Regions from separate parts of the Homo sapiens genome. Here region 1 is linked to region 2. The links are contacts of gene promoters, found by promoter capture Hi-C in human tissues and cell types (Jung and others, 2019). All regions are on one chromosome and are shown on one strand. The core of a region is centred on a gene start or on the middle of the fragment in contact, and the rest is flanking DNA. Distances in the headings are between cores, read along the strand shown.

What was found. Contacts are between HindIII fragments. The study calls those that stand out against the background at their distance.
Region 1: a fragment that was not itself captured here is called in contact with the fragment with the promoter of LRRFIP1 in region 2 in 2 of the 25 tissues and cell types used here (IMR-90 fibroblasts and mesenchymal stem cells).

The regions. Positions count from the first base shown.
Region 1 is chr2:237,110,518-237,117,042 of GRCh38, reverse strand. No RefSeq gene overlaps it. Among named protein-coding and RNA genes, the nearest start is that of COPS8, 28 kb to the right of the region's middle. The HindIII fragment of the contact is 5,497 bases long and covers 1-4,211 here.
Region 2 is chr2:237,625,479-237,632,086 of GRCh38, reverse strand. LRRFIP1 (LRR binding FLII interacting protein 1) reads right to left here and starts at 4,500. Exons shown (of 24, transcript NM_001137550.2): 1 at 4,347-4,500. The coding sequence starts at 4,442. RefSeq lists enhancers at 30-591, 594-1,093. The HindIII fragment of the contact is 12,440 bases long and covers 971-6,608 here.

The DNA.
Region 1 (6,525 bases), core at 214-2,713, 510 kb after region 2:
GTGCTGGTCTAGGCAGTTAAATAGCTCTTCTTTGTGTTGAGTCAAAACTGGTCTTTCTAACCTTCTTGATTTTGCCTTCTGAAGCAATAAACAAAATTATTCCACATGGTGGTCAGTCCAATATCTGAAGACAATCATCATCCCCACCCATCTTTTCTTCTCATGCTGAATAGCCTTTCCTTTTGCAAACATTCCTTCTATGACATGTGTTAAAAATTATTTATCCAAAACTTGGAAAATGTCAAAATGATTGTTGTTATCTTTCTGAACAATTTCTTTAATAAGCCCAGTTGACCTTCATTGAGCTCTCTCAGGGAGTGTAACTTTGATTTTACAGGGCTGTAAAACATCTGGTTCCTTATCAGTTACGGATAGTTGCTCTGAGTTTAACTTGCAGAAAGTAGAGAGTGAGAAATGTTCTTATAACCTGAGATGAAAGGCAAAAATTCTGCAAATGGATTTCTGGGAATTATGTGAGGACATTAAACTGAGCTTCTTCTCATGCCCCTGCATCTAGCTGTTGGGGACCTAACTCCATATTGGTTGTGGCTCAGTTTAGTGCATATTCCATCTCTTGGAAGAAAGCATGCCAACCCGTCATGCTAGTACAATTGCTGAGCCTTGAATAGGCCATTCCACCATTCTATTAAGCTAGATACTTCTGTGTAAGGAAAACTTAAAACCAATGAAACGGTCATGCACCCATTGTCACATCTCCCTGTTCATAAAATGGGTCTCTTGGACTGACGTGATGCTCTGTAGGATTTATTGTTAATAGATGAGACTTTTGTATGTTCTTAGAAGGTGGTGCTGGAGAAGGCACTCACAGTGCATGTAAGGCAAACCCATACTTGGAGTAGGTGCCAATTCCAGTAAGGATGTGACGCTGTTCTTCCCATGGTAGAAGGGGCCAATATAACCAACTACTGGTATCTTCAGTGCTGCCAAGTGGTATCTAGTTTCCTTCTGGAACAGTCATAGTTGACGGCTTCACATCACTCTGCACTGACTCCAGGTCCACAGAGGAAGAAGCAAGATCAGCCTTGGTGATGGAGAACTCACGCTGCCTGGCCCATGTGTAAACCCCATTCCTGCTACTATTATGACTCTATTTATGGACACATTGTGCCAACACAGGGATGAGTGAAGACAGCCTGGCCCACAGGCAAAAGACAAGTTAACTTGTCCACTTCATAGATGACTTTTTCCCGGTCTGGTGAGTGTTCTCTGGTGGGCATTGATGTGAAACACATAGATTTACTTACTGTGCGCCCACTCCTACAAGTCCATTCGTGATCTCTTTCCCAGACCTCTTTATCTCCAATTTCCTGATCTTTCTCCTTTCAGGCCTCTGATACACAAGCCTAGCCACTTGCCACTGTCTTATACCTAATGTTAAATGACGAGTTAATGGGTGCAGCACACCAGCATGGCACATGTATACATATGTAACTAACCTGCACATTGTGCACATGTACCCTAAAACTTAAAGTATAATAATAAAAAGAAACAGATGCAAAAAAAAGACAAAAAATAAATAAATAAAGTTCATTCTGCTGGCTGCTGCTACCTCTGTTCAAAGTGAATGGCCAAATGCACGGCTCAAAAATCTGTCCACTTGGAGTATTTCCCCTCACTGCTATCCTTTATGTCCACCACTGAGTGGGCTTGAAATATGGCAGGAGTGCATTTTTAGGCTTGTATCAACATGTCAAGCTGACCTGTTTGTGAATCAGGCCTGGGTTTTTGCTTCCTCCATCAGCAAGTCAGAAGAAACCTCCAATAAAACTATACATGTGAATTGAGAGAGAGGTGTTGGTACAACAGAGGTAAGAGCTATGAAAGTCTAGGTCACCTGATTAGCTATTTGTAATTGTACGTGCTTGGATCTGCTATCAAATTTACCATTTTCACTGACCAATAAATTTCTGCTGTACCCACAAACTTTTAAATCTGAAAATAGGCAGTTACAGCCCACCCATTGAAATCCTAATTTTGTTTTTCTTTTGGAGAAATTCTAGTTAATTCTTTTTCATATATGCCAGGCATGTTTTGATGTCTCTTGCTCACTCTTCATATTTTAATGTCTTGACTTTTAAAAATATTTGAAAAAATTATTTAAACATACACTTAAATAGTTTCGTAAAATAAACATGTTGTTAAACATGCTTTAACATACTTAAACATATAAAACATTTTCATAATTATAATTTCACACCCAATGTCTTTGAGGCTTTAATTCTATGGCTTTTAATTTATGCTGATTCCTATTCATAATGGCTTATTATGCACTGTTTAGTTTTGGATTGTGAACTCATCTTTCTTGGAACCCTATCTATGGCAATTCATTCAGGCATTGAGCTAAATATATTGCCAGGTATTTGCTTTTGTTTCCAGACAACCTTCTGAAGACAGACTTGTGTACTCACATCCCCTTCCCATTACTTCTTACTTGCTCCCCTACTGCAGAATCTTCTAGAGTGGAAGGATTTTTCTCTAGTTCATCTTTCCAAGGCATTATCTTTAAGATGTCCTACTGTATGTGAGTTGAATGATCTTACTTACCTCATCAAATATAAGGTTTTGTCTCCTGCGCCCTTCATATCAGTGGCCCCAAATAACAGAGGTTCTAGGCCATCAAGATTGGTGGCTCCAGTGCTAGAGTATAGTTGTTTCTGGCCTTTGAGAATGTCCCTATTTTACTGTCAGCTCATCGATGTATATTTAAAAATAACTTTAATACTTTAAATAGCGTTTTAGTTGTTCTAGACTGGGAGGTTTTCTCCAGACATTTAATTAACTATATTAGCAGAAATAGATGTTAACCTTATATTTTAGCATGCACATTTAACTTAAAGTTTAAAATTAATTTGTATCTTTTCCCCTACATGAACATTTCAAAGATTTAGGATTAACATACTGGACAATAATAGTTACAAGTTTGGAGGCATCTTATTTTTAAATGGTTCTAATTTAATAACTCTCAATCAAGGGTAGGGACGATGAAAATCTTCAGAAGACTTTTTCAAGTGTTACTACATGTAATGAATGTGTCGTATATGTTAATAATATGAAGGCCAAACAATGTTGAGAATTAAGTGTTCTCATTGATGAAATCATCTTCTTATAAAATTGGCTCTAGTATTACTGACCTATACATCCAACAAAAATATATATAAATATATATACAAAACTATATATATGTATATATTCTAAATTTAGTTTATGTTCTTAAAAGGAAACTTTCTTTTACAACCACAGTAAAATCAACAAAATCAGGAAAATCAGTGTACTATAAAATGATCTCATCCAAAGGCTGGAAAACTTTCTACATAGGGTCAAATAGTAAATATTTTAGCCTTTAAAGAACATACAGTTTGTGTTACAACTACTGAATTCCACTGTTGTAGTGTGCAAGTAGCTACAGATGATGCATAAATCAATGGGTGTGGCTGTGTTCCAAAAACACATTTGCAAAAATAAGCATTGACCTGGTTTGGTCCCACAAGCTATAGTTTGCCAACTCCTGATCTAATCTACAGAGTTAATTCTGATTTTGCTAATTTTCCAATCATGCGCGTTATAGCATTGCGTTGAGTTGTGCCTCTTTAGTTTCTTTTGATCTGGATAGTTTTTCAATCTTTCTTTGTATTTCATGAAATTGACATTCCTGAAGAATGCAAGATAGTTGTTTTTGTAAATTATCCCTCATTTTGGGTTTGTGTGATGCTTCTTCATTATTAGATTCAGGATTTACATTTTGGACATGGATACCACAGAATTGATGTGTTCTCTTCAGTGGTTTGTAGTAGAAAGCACATGATGCTGAAGTGACTCATTACTGGTAAAGTTAACTTGGTTAAAAGGGTCATCCACTAAAATTTTAGTATATTCTTCTTTAGAAAATACTTGTGGGAAGGGAGTTTGGGTCTGTAAATATTCTTAATTCCCAAGCTTTAACCCACTAGTTTAACGTCCATTGATGAACCTTTCCTGTATTAATTATTATCATTATGGTTTCCCAGTGGTGATATTACAAGTCCATTCATTCTACATCTGTTAGTTGGAACTGTTCTTCAGTGCTATTTATTTGTTTATATCCATATGGAATAATGAATTCTTATGTAATTGAACAGGTTATAATCCTTAACTATCATTTATTTTGATGCTCAATCTGTCCCTAATTTGGCCAGACAGATCCCCTTTCAAGCTGGCTCTAGTGTCCTGTTAGTATGTCTTCCAATTCTTTAAGTTCCTCCTTGCTTTCTGGCACAAGCTGTTTTAAGCGGTTCTCTACTTACAGACCTGAAACCAACTATTTCTCCAAGGAGTCCTGTGTCCTTTTAAAGAAATAGCCTTGGTTTCATTGATTTTATTAATTGTAAGGTTTTTATGTTGCTTATTTCTGTTCGCTTCTTTATCTGGGGCTTAATTTGCTCTTCTTTTTCTAAGTTCTTAAGATAGAAGCTTAGATAACTGATTCTAGATTTTATTTTAATAAAATAAGCATTTTAAAACATGAATTTCACTCCAAGTAGGGCTTTAATCCCACAAATTTTGTTATGGCTGTTTTGATTTTCATTCATTTCAAAATATTTCCTCGTTATCCTTGTAATTTCTTCTTTCACCCATGGGTTATTTAGAAGTACATTTTAAAATTATTGAATATTTGGGGATTTAAAATATATCTTCTGCTATTGATTTCTAATTTAATCCTGTTATAATCAGAGAACACATAATGCATGATTTCTAACCTTTTAAATGTATCGACACTTGCTCTGTGGCCCAGCATATGGTTTATCTTTGTGAATGTGTTATTCTGCTGTTGTTCGGTGGAGTGTCAAGTAGGTTTGCATGGTAATAGTGTTGATCATGTCCTCTATATCCTTATGTATTTTCTAATGTTCTGTTAATTACTGAAAAAGAAGTATTAAAATATCCAACTGTAATTGTGGCTTTGTTGGTTTCTCTTTTCAGTTCTATCAGCTTTAGATTCATGTATATTTGAAGCTCTGTTGTTGGAGGCTTATACATTCCGGATTATTATGTCTTCCTGATAAACAGGCCACTTTATCATTTTGAAAGGTCTCTCTTTATCCTTTGTAACATTCCTTGTTCCAATATTGACTTCATCTGATATCAACATAGCCACTCCATATTTCTTCTGTTTAGTGTTTCCATGACATATAATTTCATTTATTTTACTTGTAACCTCTTTTTAAGTATAACAGATTTCTTGTACACAGAATATAATTGGGTCTTGCATTTTTAGTCAGTATGACAACCTCTTTTTGGTTAGAGCGTTTGTAATTATTCATATGATAGTTTTAAATCTCTCATCATGCTATTTGTTTTCTGTTTGTTTCATCTTAGTTCCTTTCCCCCTCACTTCTTGCCTTATTTTGAATGGAATGTTTTTTAAATTATTATTTCATCTATATCCACTATTGGACTTATTTGTTATATCTATGTTTTCTTTACTGGTAGTTATTCAAGAGCAGTGAGGTCCAATAGAATTTTCAGTAATGATGGAAATGTTCTATATTTATGCTCTCAAATATGGTAGCCACATGTGACTACTGAGCATTTGATATGTAGTTGGTGCCACTGAAAAAGTGAATAATTAATTTTATTTCATTTTCATTAATTAAAATTTAAATTTAGTCAGTTGTGGCTAGTGGCCACCATATTGGACATTTCACGCTAGGCTTCAATATCTTTTCCTTATTATAATTTAACTTTACTGTATTTTACCACTTACTATATAAGACCATTACAAAAGTATATATCCATTTCCCTCTTCAATTCTTTGCACTATTGTTGTCATATATTTTACCTTTACATATTAAAAATCCTACATTATTTTTGCTTCAAATAGCTATCTTTTAAAGCAATGAAAAAATAAAGACATTTTACCCACATATTTACTATTTCTGATGTTCTTTATACCTTCATATAGATCTAAATGTATCTGATCTGATATGATTTTATTTCAGTTGGAAGAACTTCCTTTAACATGTATTTCAGTGCAGATCTCTTGTTGATGAACTCTTTAAGTTTTTGTTTGTCAAAAAAAAAGTTGTTTTTTTCCTTTGACCTTAATTTTTCAGGACATTTTTACTGGCTTTAGAATTCTAGTTTGACAGTTGTTTTCTTTTAGGCCTTTAAAGATGTCATTCCATTATCTCATTGCTGTAAATTCTTATCTTTCTTTTTATGTAATGTGTCTCCGCCTACTCTAAGATACAGCAACTCCTTTAAAATTTTAAAAAAAATTTTTATCGGTTGTCCAGCAATTTTATGATGTATTTTGTACAACATATGTGTGTGTTTATTCTAGTTAGCATTGATTGAACTTCTTGGATCTGTGAGATTATGTACTATTCATCAAATTTTTGGCTAATTCTTCAAAAAGCTTTACTTCATCTTAGCTTGTGGGGACTCTAATCACACTTGCATTAGACCTCTTGATATTAATCCACTCATTTTTAATTCTTTCTTTTCCTCTAAACTTCCTCTGAGATA
Region 2 (6,608 bases), core at 3,251-5,750:
CAAGTGAAAGGCGGTGGCTGTGAGGCCTGAACCAACAGCACCCGCAGGCCCACGAGTCAACTTGGGGCCGGTGAAGCAGCCGGGTGGGGCAGCAGTGCCCCTGCCATGGATCAGGGCCCGAGGCCGCAGGCCACAGAGGGGCCAGCTTGGAGAGGAGGCTGCAGAAACAGTTATGGGGGGAGGGCCTCCGTCCTGCTGGGTGAGGAAGGGGTACCTATGGCACCACCAGGGGATAATAAGCTCACCGCACTGTCTCAAGGCCCCACGGTGAGTTCCTAATGCAGCCTGCGCAAATGACTGTTCCTGTTGGGAAAAACATTCTTCATTTGAGAGCAATACTTTGAATTGCATGGTGAGACCAGTATCGCTTTACTCAGCTGCAGAGTGCTGAATGAGAAGTTTGGGATGCTACCAAAATGCACCAGTAGAATGTGAAATGCGGTAGGAGAGGAAAATCTATCTGCGTTGGAAACACCCCTCCCCAGAAGTGGGAGGCGCAGCTCATGCCTTTGGTGCTAATGAGCTTCTGCAAGTGCGTACTAAACCTTTCTCCTGATAACATCCCGCCTGAATTCCACTGCAACAAGAGAGTGAGAAATAATTGACTTGCGATAATACAGCATTTGCAAATAACTCCCTTTACTATACACGCTTGCCTAGAGTTTAAACCATCACATGGAAGCAGGACACCGGCTGCAGAAGCAGAAATGCACCCTCCAAAGGCTGCCCCCACCACGAGTCCTGCTTCTACCCAGAAGAGTGCAAAGCCCTGCCTGCACAGGGCAGCCTAGCTCTTCCCCTCGCTCCAGCGAACTGGAACCCACGTCCCTGCCAGGTGACTCAGGCTTCCCAATGACCTCAGCCCAGAATTTTCCACTTACTCTCCAGAAGGCATGTTCTTGGGTGCCAGGCCCAAGTGGCAGCCCACTCCCTCCCACTTCCTTGAAGCCTCCCCAGTTTCCATTCAGGCCCCCACCTTCCCAAGTGTTTCAGGGAGGCCGGCTCTCCCCAGTCCCAGGATGAGTCTGACAGGTCACAGGGTAGACCCACCCCCCTTTGCCACAGGCACTGAGCCCCTAAGTCCATGGTCCTTGTCAAAGAGCTTGGTGCAGGAGTGGCCAGACAGACTCATGAAAGTTTACCAGGGAGATACTGCTAGCTCTCTGGAGAGAGCCACCAGAAGAGACGGTGTGTGGGCTCCACAGTGGCAGCCCGGGAAAGCCAAGGCCAGCTGGCCTCCATGAAGCAAGTCAGCCTGAGGATGAGGCCACCCACAGAGGATGGCCCAGCCCAACCAGCTGCGCAGGTGCTGTGGGAAAAAGAGGCCGGAGCCACTGGTGAGGCTGGCGGGGAATCCTGCCCTGCCTCCGGGCTTGCTGTGCTCCAGCCAATATACTTCCCCTTGTCAATGTCAGTCCAGTCAGGGTTTCTGTCCCAGCAGCCAAAGCATCTTGACTGGTACATACAGCCTTCAAGAACTCAAAATGCCACTTCCTCCAGGAAGCCACTTCTGAGACCACTGGCCGGCTGTGATTCTCTCTCATGTCCAAACCTTCAGAACACTGTCTACGCCCTTTTTATATCAGATCCCTTCCTGTCTTCGGTTAGCATTATTGATCTACAGGTGTCAACCCCTTTCTGACCCAACTCCTGGAGGGCAGGCAGGTCCTCGCCGGGTTCCTCCCTGACTCTCCAGTCTCCCCAGGACAGGAATTTGGATACCATGGCTTGTATCTGTTGAGTCAATGAGTGAATAAGAAAGTACTGAACCCAAGACGATTTTGTTGATTTCTATAAGAACCCTGATGAATTCAAGGAGTAGATATTTGCCATTTGAATAGTGATTTTCATTTTCACAGTTGAGAAATAGAAGTTAATTTGTACTAAAACATAAGATGTCACACCTGCTCCCTCCAACCCTATCAATCTGTGCTACTCAGCACTAGTAACAGCTGCACCTACGGCTGGGTTTTACCGGGAGGGGCGTGTAAGAAGCTCTCATATTTACCCACCGCCTAGTTACATACTTTACATTGCTACCCACTTTCTTTAATTCTGACAGCCAGGGGAGGTTTCTTCTTCTCCATTTTAGAGACGAGAAAACAGAGGCCCAGAGAAGAGTGAGTAACTCACCTTCCTAGGATGGCACAGCTGGCTAAGAACTATGTCATTTGAAAGCCCAGCTCTGACTCACAAGTCTATCTCTGTAACTCCAACTGCATCTCCCTCGGTGGGAGGGAGGACCTCAGGGCTCTCAACCCAAGGAGTGTTCCCTTGCCTTCCTTTTCAATCTATTTTATAAAAACCAGCAGATAGGCTGGGCGCAGTGGCTTACGCCTGTAATCCCAGCACTTTGAGAGGCCAAGGCGGGAAGATCACTTGAGGCCAGGAGTTTGAGACCAGCCTGGCCAACACGGTGAAACCCCGTCTCTATTAAAAATACAAAAATTAGCCGGGTGTGGTGGTGCGTGCCTGTAATCCCAGCTACTGGTGAGGCTGAGGCAGGAGGATCTCTTGAGCCTGGGAGGTGGAGGTTGCAGTGAGCCGAGATCATACCACTGTACTCCAGCCTGGGCAACAGAGTGAGACTGTGTTAAAAAAAAAAAAAAAAAAAAAAAAGAAGAAAGAAACACCAGTGGATAAAAGGCAAACTCTGGAAATTTTCATTCTTCTCATTCTTCTGCCCCATAACCACTGACATCAAGACAAGGCTTGCGATTCACTGGCCACCTCTGGCCCTTGCAGGGAACACTTGTAAGGCACTGTGGTCAAATGCATACATAAGTGACTGTCTTCACAGGAGGGAGTTATACTCAAGCTACTATATTTAGCAAATGTCTATATTTAGCCAAAGGTCCTTTAAATGCCTTGTACTTCTTTTGTTTATTAATTAATGTAACAGACATAGACAAACACCTAGTATGTGCCTGGCTCTGTGCTGAGCTCTTGGGATACAAAAGTAAGATATTTCCTGTCTGGGTGTCACCTTCTACAGGTGGACAAATAATGATAAGGTATCCTGACTGCCATGCCAGGCGCGGGCATGCCATGGAGGGCCGTGGAGCCAGGGAGACTTAGGCCTGGTGCGATGTGAGAGGGCTGAGTCTGGAAGGTCTCCTGGAGGTCACAGTGGGCTTCCAGGAATGAATAAGGGTTTGCCTGGAAAGCCCTTTTCTGTATCATACAGAGAAAAACAGAAGTCTTTATTCACTCAGTAGTCAACAAATACTGAGTGACTGCCACATGTCCGTAAGAGCAAAATCAGGTATTTACAACTACAAACACCTAAGGATTGGTTACAGAGTAGATCCCCCAGAATATCTGACGGATACAGCCAGACACCACAGTCCAAATGGCTTGGAGGTGTTTCCTGTGGGAAGAATCACATGTGGAAAAGCCAACACGGAAAAGAACCTGTAAGGCGGGTTACAAGGCAGAGACTTTCTTTGCATTCATACACCCACCTGGCACACAGTTCAAATGGTACAAAGGGAACACAGTCAAAAATTAAGCTTCCTTTGTCCCCCTGGGGCCGCAACCTATTGGCTCCCCTTTTCCCAAGCTGCTGCTCTCTGTCCCTGTACGGCTTTCTGGATGTCATGTACATTCTTTAGCCTTAAGGTAGAATCCTTGCGGAAGGAAAAAAAAAAAGGCATTTGTACAAATACCCATTCTAGTGCGCCTTCAATTTGTCACAGGTAAAGTTCATCACCAAACATGATCTTAGTTACAATAAACTCTGTCCAGGAAACTTTAATGAAGACGTTTCAGTGTGCCTGGACCCGTTTCCAGGCTCAGTCCTGAAAGAAAAATCACAGTGATCCCCAAGTTCATCTCTGAGCTGCACCTTGAGTGACATCGATGGATGGATGACAAATGGTCACCTGAGCGACTCGGCCATTTCAGCAGGGCCATGTGGCCTCCGGCGACCGTCCACTGCCTCCAGGTCGGGCCTAAGCCCCCGCCTCCTCCCATGCCGCACAACAAAGCGGGGCGCTCGCCCCCACCCGGCCAGCCCGGGCCACCTCGCGCGCTGGCGGCGCCCGGCTCCTCTCCCGAGGGCGCAGCGGCCGACGGTGGCCGGGGTGGGGGAGGGCGCGCAGCGTCGCGGGCTGGGCCCGGGGCTGGAGAACGGGTGCGGGGTCCGCAGGCCTCGGAGATCGGGGCCGGGGCGCAGCGCCTGGGGATCAGCGCCCCGGCGCGCGCCTGCCCGGCCCACCCGCCTGGAGCCGGACGCGCAGTGGCACAGACGCACAGCGGGACAGACGGACGCCGGAGAGACCCTGACAGCCGTCCGGCCCCCGCGCCCGCCCGGCGCCCCCCGGCTGCCCTCCCGGAGCGCTCACCTCCCGCGCGATCTGGTTGAGCGCGTCGTCCTCCGCCGTGAGCCGCTCCCGGTTGGGGAGCCGCTTGCGCCCCGATCCCTGGGTGCCCATGTCCATCGACCGCGTCGCCCGCAGCTGCCGCGGGGCCCGTTGCTCCAGCCGCTCGCGCCGCCCCGGCCCGGCCCCGGCCCCGGCCCCTCCCTCCGCCGCGGCGTCATGGCGTCAGCGGGCGCTGGGCCGGGGACGCGGGGACGCGGGGGGACGGGGGCCGCGGGGACCCGGGGGAAGCCAGAGCCGGAGGTCCGCAGCGCGGGCCAGGGACTGCAGGGGCCAGGGACGGCGGGGCGGGGGACGGGGGCGGGGGGCGGAGACGCCAGGTGTCAGGGACGATGGGGGTCCGATACCACGGGGACGCTGCGGATGCCCAGGGCCGGGCACGCGGGACCTGAGGGACCGGGAGCCCCGGAGGGTGGACTTTGCGGGGACTGTTTGGCGGGCCGGTAATCGCGGAGCGACGCGCGCCAGGGCGGTGGGCACCGGTTGAGTGGGGACCTGAGCGGAGAGCGGGGGGGTAGGAAGGCTTTCAGAGGCCTGAGTTGCCTTGAGGGGTTTGCACGGAGGGGTGAGCACAGGATTTGGTTCAGCCTGGCGCTCCCCATTCCGCGGTGAGTCGGGGTGGAAGTCCCTCGCCGGGGTGAGAGCTAGGCTCTGGGGTCAGGCCGAGAGGTGCTCGGATCCGCCCGCCACCGCCGCTCCTGTGACCTTGGCCAGCCTCCTGGGCGCCGGCTTCACAGCGGCATGGTGTGGATGTGTGCGTTTCTGTCTTTACACGCGTGTTCTCCGTGCTAGCATCCATCCTTCTCCCCGCTGTCTGCCCCCTGAGATCAAGGACTTGTCACTTCTCTGGTGGGTCCCCAGCCTCTAGGATCGGGGCAGGTGCGTCGCAGCTCTCTCCTAGTTGTTGAAAAAGTAATGAACTTACCTGTGCTCTCTGAAGCTCACAGTCTATGCTCCAGAGGTGGATTTAAAAGTAAAGCAAATCGGAGGATTAGGTAGGGGTTAAAAGCCCCTGCCTAGGGCACGGCAGGAGCACCGGGTGGGAAAGTTACTGGTGTGTTTGGGGTATGGGGAGAACTTCAGTGTGGCTGGACCTGGGGAAGGATGGGAGGGAGGGTAGTGATGGTAGAGGAGAGGAGGCTGTACTGAAGTCACCTGTGATTTTTTTCCCCCAGTGATAAGGACAGTTAACATTTCGGTGTATTTCCCACCAAGTGGTGTGACCAGATTGCTTTGGATTCTTAAGGAGGTGGCCTGGAAGCTGTATGAAGGTGGGAAGAGGAAGAGGGCCCTTCCACCCACAGTGGCAGGGAAAGCTGTTGGAGGTTTCATTGCAGGGAAAAGACAGCGAGTCCAGTGACATGGGAGGGAGGGCAGATCCAGGTGACATTGCTCTGGGTGCCTGAGCTGACGCAGGTGGGTTGGCAGGGCTGACTGTGGCATTGTTCATGACTGAACTCCGGGAGCAGAAACTGCACCTGCACATTGTAGGCACTAAGGAAATAGGTGTTGACTGAATCTTCCAGGCCATATTTACATTACTTCAGAGGCCATACTCCTTAAGTGACATAGTCCTCCTTGGGGGAAACCTTGAGCCGTGGCCACTTGCACTGCCTTGGTCTTGCTGGTGGCTGCTCACTGTTTCCCAGCCCCTGGGGCACTGTGGGGACTGTGCGTCTTTGCCGAGGCTGGTCCCCATGAGTTCACTCATTCCTGCACCCACACCTGCTGCCTGCCAGCTGCTGAGCTGGAGGCTGGGGCATAGCTGTCCGAGAGGCAGACACGGCTGCTGCCTCTCAGGGCTGACTTGAGATGCCTGGAGCTCCTTAACTAAAGCCATATCCAAGTTCCAACGTCTCCTTTCTAAAAGAAGTCTCCCTTTGCTCCCTGTCCTTCATTGGAACTTTGAGCCACTTTTTGCTAACACCTAAATCCTCCATCCTGATGTGTTGAGGCCAGGAGGGCAGGCGCTGACCCCATCTTCCTCATCTTTAAGCCTTCACCAGGGACTGGCTGTGCCAGTTGCTTAGTGGAGTGCAGTGGTTGAACTTGTGGAACAGAGTTCAGTTCCCAACCCTCCTCCCCACTTTCCCTGTTGGATTGTTGTCCAGAGACAGGAGATTCACTGCCGTGGGGACTGGCCAGAGGTGTGTCTGAACAGCTCCCGCTGGTAGACAGTGTTCTCGGACACTGTGGTGAATTCAGCTTCCTGCCCCTCCCCCATCA